Regions from separate parts of the Homo sapiens genome. Here region 2 is linked to region 1. The links are contacts of gene promoters, found by promoter capture Hi-C in human tissues and cell types (Jung and others, 2019). All regions are on one chromosome and are shown on one strand. The core of a region is centred on a gene start or on the middle of the fragment in contact, and the rest is flanking DNA. Distances in the headings are between cores, read along the strand shown.

The links. The method cuts DNA at HindIII sites, captures the fragments that hold promoters and counts their contacts. A contact is called where the count stands out against the background at its distance.
Region 2: a fragment that was not itself captured here is called in contact with the fragment with the promoter of PRDM13 in region 1 in 3 of the 25 tissues and cell types used here (bladder, small bowel and spleen).

The regions. Positions count from the first base shown.
Region 1 is chr6:99,605,583-99,608,765 of GRCh38, forward strand. PRDM13 (PR/SET domain 13) reads left to right here and starts at 1,251. Exons shown (of 4, transcript NM_021620.4): 1 at 1,251-1,596; 2 at 3,159-3,183. The coding sequence starts at 1,453. The HindIII fragment of the contact is 8,735 bases long and covers 1-3,183 here.
Region 2 is chr6:99,674,525-99,677,707 of GRCh38, forward strand. No RefSeq gene overlaps it. Among named protein-coding and RNA genes, the nearest start is that of PRDM13, 69 kb to the left of the region's middle. The HindIII fragment of the contact is 3,759 bases long and covers 1-3,183 here.

The sequences.
Region 1 (3,183 bases), core at 1-2,500:
ACCACTCAGGCCTCTCTTGGAAGAACTGCATCGGGCTCCGGTGCTGGCTGCATAGGATTTGGGGAGCTGTGCTCAGAACTAGCAGCACGCGGCAGGTGCCGGCAGAAATCACAAATATCTGATGAACTTGATTACTTGGCTACTATTTATGAAAATAAATGTTCTCACGCCAATTGGAGGCTTCCCTAAAAGAAAACGGGTAGCTCTCCGGTTTAACTCTGAAGTACAACGTCTTGTTAGTTCACAAAGTAGGTGTAAGAAAGAGTTGTCCCAAACGCCCACCTCGCCCCTCTTCTCTACAACCTTTAACAGATTGCGGTGATTTTCGTTTTTGTTTACTGTTTTTTTTTTAATAGAAAAGTCCAGGTTGCTGGTTTTAGGGAAGTTAGTCCAAGGACATCTTCTAGGGGACGTGATCAATAACCCACTGGTAGAACTTCTTCCTCTTCAACCCTGGGCTGCGGACCGGGGCGCAGGATCCCCATTCGAAACTGTTGGTTCTGGGGCTGTTTCCCATTCTCCAGAGAAAGTGCAGGCCCGGGGTGTGCCCGAGAAAAGTGATGAGCAGTTGACCTCCCCTTCTCAACTTGGTCTGGAGGCTTCATCATATTTTCGGACGAAATGGGACAGAAGTGAGAATTAAAGCGGTTCTGAATAGACGACTGGCCTGAACCCAATCCCCTGAAATGGTAATATGGTTGTTATTTAAAAAGTGTAGGTATTTTCTGGTGTTTTCCCATCAAGTACCTGCCTAATTTCTGTATGGCACACGCCAGAAATCAATAGTAGTTAACAAGTCCTCCAAACAGTCTCCATCTCTTTGTTTAATCTCCTTTACAATAAAGCCAAGGGGAGAGAATTAAAAATCTTTGAAGTAGATCAAGGCTCAAAGGAATCAGCCAAGTAGACTTAAAGTAGTCACTTATTTCCCAAAACTGGTTTGTCGGGGAACAATAAAAGGAAGTAAAATTTATGGAGAAATTATACAGTGGATTTGTCACTTAAAATATCGTAACTGTCTGGAGGACAATACCCCATGCTGAGGATTAATGGTCCCGCCGGACCTTTGATTCACCAGTGCCTTTTCTTCGCCCTTGACAAATTGGATTTTTAGGAATGGGAAGGTCGCCTGGACCATTGTGTGCTAGCCATTCAGCGGCCTCGATTATGCAGGGGGCTGAGGGAACCACTCCATGTGACCCTCTCGGGTGGGACTCTGCAGCTGCTTCGCAGCGCAACTCTCTCACCAAACTCCGCGCCCTTGCGCTAGCGGTGCCAAAAGGCTCCCGCCCCGATTGAAAAGGCGCAGTGCATGCCCGCCCGCGTCACTCCGCGGGCGGAGGACGCACGTCGGGGCGCGGCTCTCTGGCTAGCGCGCAGCTCCAGCTCTGTCACTCGCGCCCTTCCAAGGACCTGGAGCACCCGAGCGCCTGCCTGGTGGCGGCGGCAACAATGCACGGAGCCGCCAGAGCGCCAGCCACCAGCGTGAGTGCCGACTGCTGCATCCCGGCCGGCTTGCGCCTCGGACCGGTGCCTGGTACCTTCAAGCTGGGCAAGTACCTGTCAGACCGCAGGGAGCCCGGGCCTAAGAAAAAGGTATTGACCATTCAGACCTCTGCCCACTGCCATTCGCCTCTCAGTGCCCTGACCCGGGAAAGGGGTACGAGAGAAAGTGGAGGAAGGGAGTGATTGAGTCGTTACCTGCTAATTCTGCCGGGTGGAAGGGGACTCCTATTATTCTGAGCAAGTAGCCTCTTTAACTGTGAGAGCTGGACGGGGTCGGGCTGAGAGGAGAGGATGTGGCCGAGAGGCGACAGCCCTGGGTGGGGTGCACTGAGCGCTGTAGGTGCCGGGACCATTCGCAGCTTGTGTTTTCCCCTGCGCTCTCGGGTCTCCTCAGTCAGAAGCCAGAAGCCCACCCCCGCACGCTGTCCGCAGCTCTCTCTGCAAAAGCACCCTCTTTCTGGGGGCTCAGGGCATCGAGACCCTTTCTTCCCTTCTGCCCTTCAATATGTTAATTTGAGGCCTAATTTCGCCTTAAAGTAATTTTTTTTCCTGAAAAAAAAAATCTTTGGGAGGCTCTCAGTTCCTAGAACCTCCTCAGATATTTTTTTTTCCCTTGCCGATGTCGGCTTGTGGGTATGCGGCATATGGAGAGAGGATGAGCAAGGTACTGGCTCTGACGCGGGCTCCAAGGGCGAGGCGCGCCCATTCGCGCGGGGCACAGGGTCAGAGCGTCTGCAGCGGGGCTCTGAGAGTCCAGAGGCCCAACCGGGAGGCGCCAGGGCCAAACCACTAGCTTTGACTCCCACACTCCACACACCGTCGCGACCCCTGACCAGAGAGACTTATAGCACTCGCCCGCTTTGGGGGCGTCCCAGGAGCCAAAGGTCGGCAAACAGCGACCGGGAAATGAAGGCAGAAGTCTGGGGTAGAAGAAAGGACTTTGGCTTCCTTGGCTTTAGCTTGCCTTGCTTGGAGCTTTCTAGTAAAAAGCTCCGGTGTCCAGCCAGCGGGACTTGCACCTCGCTCCTCCTGCAATCACGCCCCCCACTACAGTCTAAAGCGGGGTTTGGTGCCCACCGCGCATTCCTCTTTAAACGCGTTTTAATTGCTTTTAAATGGCCTGCCAGCTGCGGGCAAGCTTTTCCCCGCTTGGGCTTTGTTCCGAGACTTTAGCTGCAGGGCTCACAGGCAACTAGGTGCGATGCACACAGAATACAGGAGGCATGAGATAATTTTTTTGTTTGTTTGTCGGGGGTACGCTCTGGGCCCTGGGACTGACCTAGAAATGTCTCTACCGTGGTGTTACGGCTGCTCTCAGAACTGCAAATGGGAGAGCTGGGGTAGGGGACAACTTGGTACAAGATGTGCCTAAGCACTCAGGGAGGATGCTCTCAACACCCCTCTCCCCTCCCCGTGTCGTCAAGGTGGGGCGCAGGGAAGTGGGAGTACTGTTAGCATAGGTAGACTTTCCTCTTTCTCCCTCCCCGAAGCAAGGTCCTAAGGAATTCTCCTCCTCCCAGTAGCCCATAGTGGTCTGGCCAAACCAAAAACAACCACTTTCCTGTGTTGGGTTGGGGTGGAGGATAAACTTTCTGTTTGGGTTGTGGGCCTGGCCAAGGTGCGGGGGAGAACGACCACTGCTTGTGTTGCAGGTGCGCATGGTGAGAGGGGAGCTGG
Region 2 (3,183 bases), core at 219-2,718, 69 kb after region 1:
TGATCCCTTTACCATTATGTAATGGCCTTCTTTGTCTCTTTTGATCTTTGTTGGTTTAAAGTCTGTTTTATCAGAGACTAGGATTGCAACCCCTGCCTTTTTTTTTGTTTTCCATTTGCTTGGTAGATCTTCCTCCATCCCTTTATTTTGAGCCTATGTGTGTCTCTGCATGTGAGATGGGTCTCCTGAATACAGCACAGTGATGGGTCTTGGACTCTTTTTCCAATTTGCCAGTAGTGTCTTTTAATTGGAGCATTTAGCTCATTTACATTTCAGGTTGATATTGTTATGTGTGAATTTGATCCTGTCATTATGATGTTAGCTGGTTATTTTGCTTGTTAGTTGTTATTTTGCTCACAGTTTCTTCCTAGCATCGATGGTCTTTACAATTTGGCATGTTTTTGCAGTGGCTGGTACCAGTTGTTCCTTTCCATGTTTAGTGCTTCCTTCAGGAGCTCTTGTAGGGCAGGCCTGGTGGTGACAAAATCTTTCAGCATTTGCTTATCTGTGAAGGATTTTATTTCTCCTTCACTTATGAAGCTTAGTTTGGCTGGATATGAAACGCTGGGTTGAAAATTCTTTTCTTTAAGAATGTTGACTATTGGCCCCCGCTCTCTTCTGGCTTGTAGAGTTTCTGCCGAGAGATCCACTGTTAGTCTGATGGGCTTCCCTTTGTGGGTAACCTGACCTTTTTCTCTGGCTGCCCTTAACATTTTTTCCTTCATTTCAACTTTGGTGAATCTGACAATTATGTGTCTTGGAGTTGCTCTTCTCAAGGAGTATCTCTGTGGTGTTCTCTGTATTTTCTGAATTTGAATGTTGGCCTGCCTTGCTAGGTTGGGGAAGTTCTCCTGGTTAATATCCTGCAGAATGTTTTCCAACTTGGTTTCATTCTCCTCGTCACTTTCAGGTACAGCAATCAGATGTAGATTTGGTCTTTTCACATAGTCCCATATTTCTTGGAGGCTTTGTTCATTTCTTTTTACTCTTTTTTCTCTAAACTTCTCTTCTTGCTTCATTTCATTCATTTGATCTTCAATCACTGATACTATTTCTTCCAGTTGATCGAATCGGCTACTGAAGCTTGTGCATTCGTCACATAGTTCTCGTGCCGTGGTTTTCAGCTCCATCAGGTCATTTAAGGACTTCTCTACCCTGGTTATTCTAGGTATCCATTCGTCTAATCTGTTTTCAAGGTTTTTAGCTTCTTTGCAATGGGTTTAAACTTCCTCCTTTAGCTTGGAGAAGTTTGATCATCTGAAGCCTTCTTCTCTCAACTTGTCAAAGTCCTTCTCCATCCAGCTTTGTTCCGTTGCTGGTGAGGAGCTGTGTTCCTTTGGAGGGGGAGAGGTGCTCTGATTTTTAGAATTTTCAGCTTTTCTGCTCTGTTTTGCCCCATCTTTGTGGTTTTATCTACCTTTGGTCTTTGATGATGGTGATCGACAGATGGGTTTTGGTGTGGAAGTCCTTTCTGTTTTTTAGTTTTCCTTCTAACAGTCAGGACCCTCAGCTGCAGGTCTGTTGGAGTTTGCTGGAGGTCCACTCCGGACCCTGTTTTCCTGGGTATCAGCAGCTGAGGCTGCAGAACAGAGAATATTGCTGAACAGCAAATGTTGCTGCCTGATCGTTCCTCTGGAAGCTTTGTCTCAGAGGGGTACCCGGCCATGTGAGGTGTTAGTCTGCCCCTACTGGGGGGTGCCTCCCAGTTAGCCTATTTGGGGGTCAGGGACCCACTTCAGGAGGCAGTCTGGCCATTCTCAGATCTCAAGCTCAGTGCTGGGAAAACCACTGCTCTCTTCAAAGCTGTCAGACAGGGACATTTAAGTCTGCAGTGGTTTCTGCTGCCTCTTGTTCGGCTATGCCCTGCCCCCAGAGGTGGAGTCTACAGAGGCAGGCAGGCCTCCTTGAGCTGCTGTGGGCTCTACCCAGTTTGAGCTTCCTGGACGCTTTGTTTACTTACTCAAGCCTCGGCAATGGTGGGCGCCCCTCCCCCAGCCTTGTTGCTGCCTTGTAGTTCCATCTCAGACTGCTGTGCTAGCAATGAGTGAGGCTCCGTGGGCATGGGACCCTCCAAGCCATGCGCAGGATATAATCTCCTGTTGTGCCGTTTGCTAAGACTGTTGGAAAAGCACAGTATTGTGGTGGGAGTGACCCAATTTTCCAGGTGCCATCTGTCACAGCTTCCCTTGGCTAGGAAAGGGAATTCCCTGAGCCCTTGTGCTTCCTGGGTGAGGTGATGCCTTGCCCTGCTTTGGCTTATGCTCGGTGGGCTGCACCCACTGTCCTGCACCCACTGTCCAACAAGCCCCAGTGAGATGAACCCAGTACCTCAGTTGGAAATGCAGAAATCACCCATCTTCTGTGTTGCTCACATTGGGAGCTGTAGACTGGAGCTGTTCCTATTTGGCCATCTTGTGCAAATAGACACTTCTAAAAGTAACTGTTGGACAGGCACAGGGATCATGGCAGCTTCAACTGTGATTTCAGTGTACACAGCACTTTAACAAATGTTGTTGATCTGAAATGAACTCTAAAGGGCCTATTTCTAGGACCTGTTGTGTTTTGTTGCATGGCTGGGTAGCTGAGGAGAAGAGATGGGGCATCTTCCTCTTGGAAGATGGCCATAATAGATTAATTAAACAAATAATTATTAAGTACTTACTATGTGCCATGCATTGTTGTAGTCTGTGCTTGAAGTACAATAGCAAAAAGACAGATGTGGTCTCTGTTCTCATGATGCTCATGGACTGGTATGGGATAGAGACAAATAAACAGAAAATTGCTCTCTGTGTTAATCAGAGTTATAATGGCAGAAAGCAAAGTGTGCTGAGAGGACAGACTGGTCCTGCAGGTAGTAGAAATCATCCATGTGTAGTCTAGACTAGGGAAACAAGCCTGGGGACTCTGGCCTTCACTCTCTTACTGGGGTTTTTGGACCTGGAAACATAAACCTTCATCTGCAGTACTCCTGGAAATGGCCATTGCTGCAGTTATCTCAGGCTGCCACTTAGGGACTTCTGTATTCTTTTCAGTTTACCAAGCCCTAAGGTGATTTTGTCTCTTTGGTATATGTGTGTACACATATCACATAAGCTTTGCTGCACCATTTAAAAGTAAGTTGTAGAGCTCATTATACTTCGATATCCATCTTCTAAGAATAAGATTTCTACACAAATCATAACT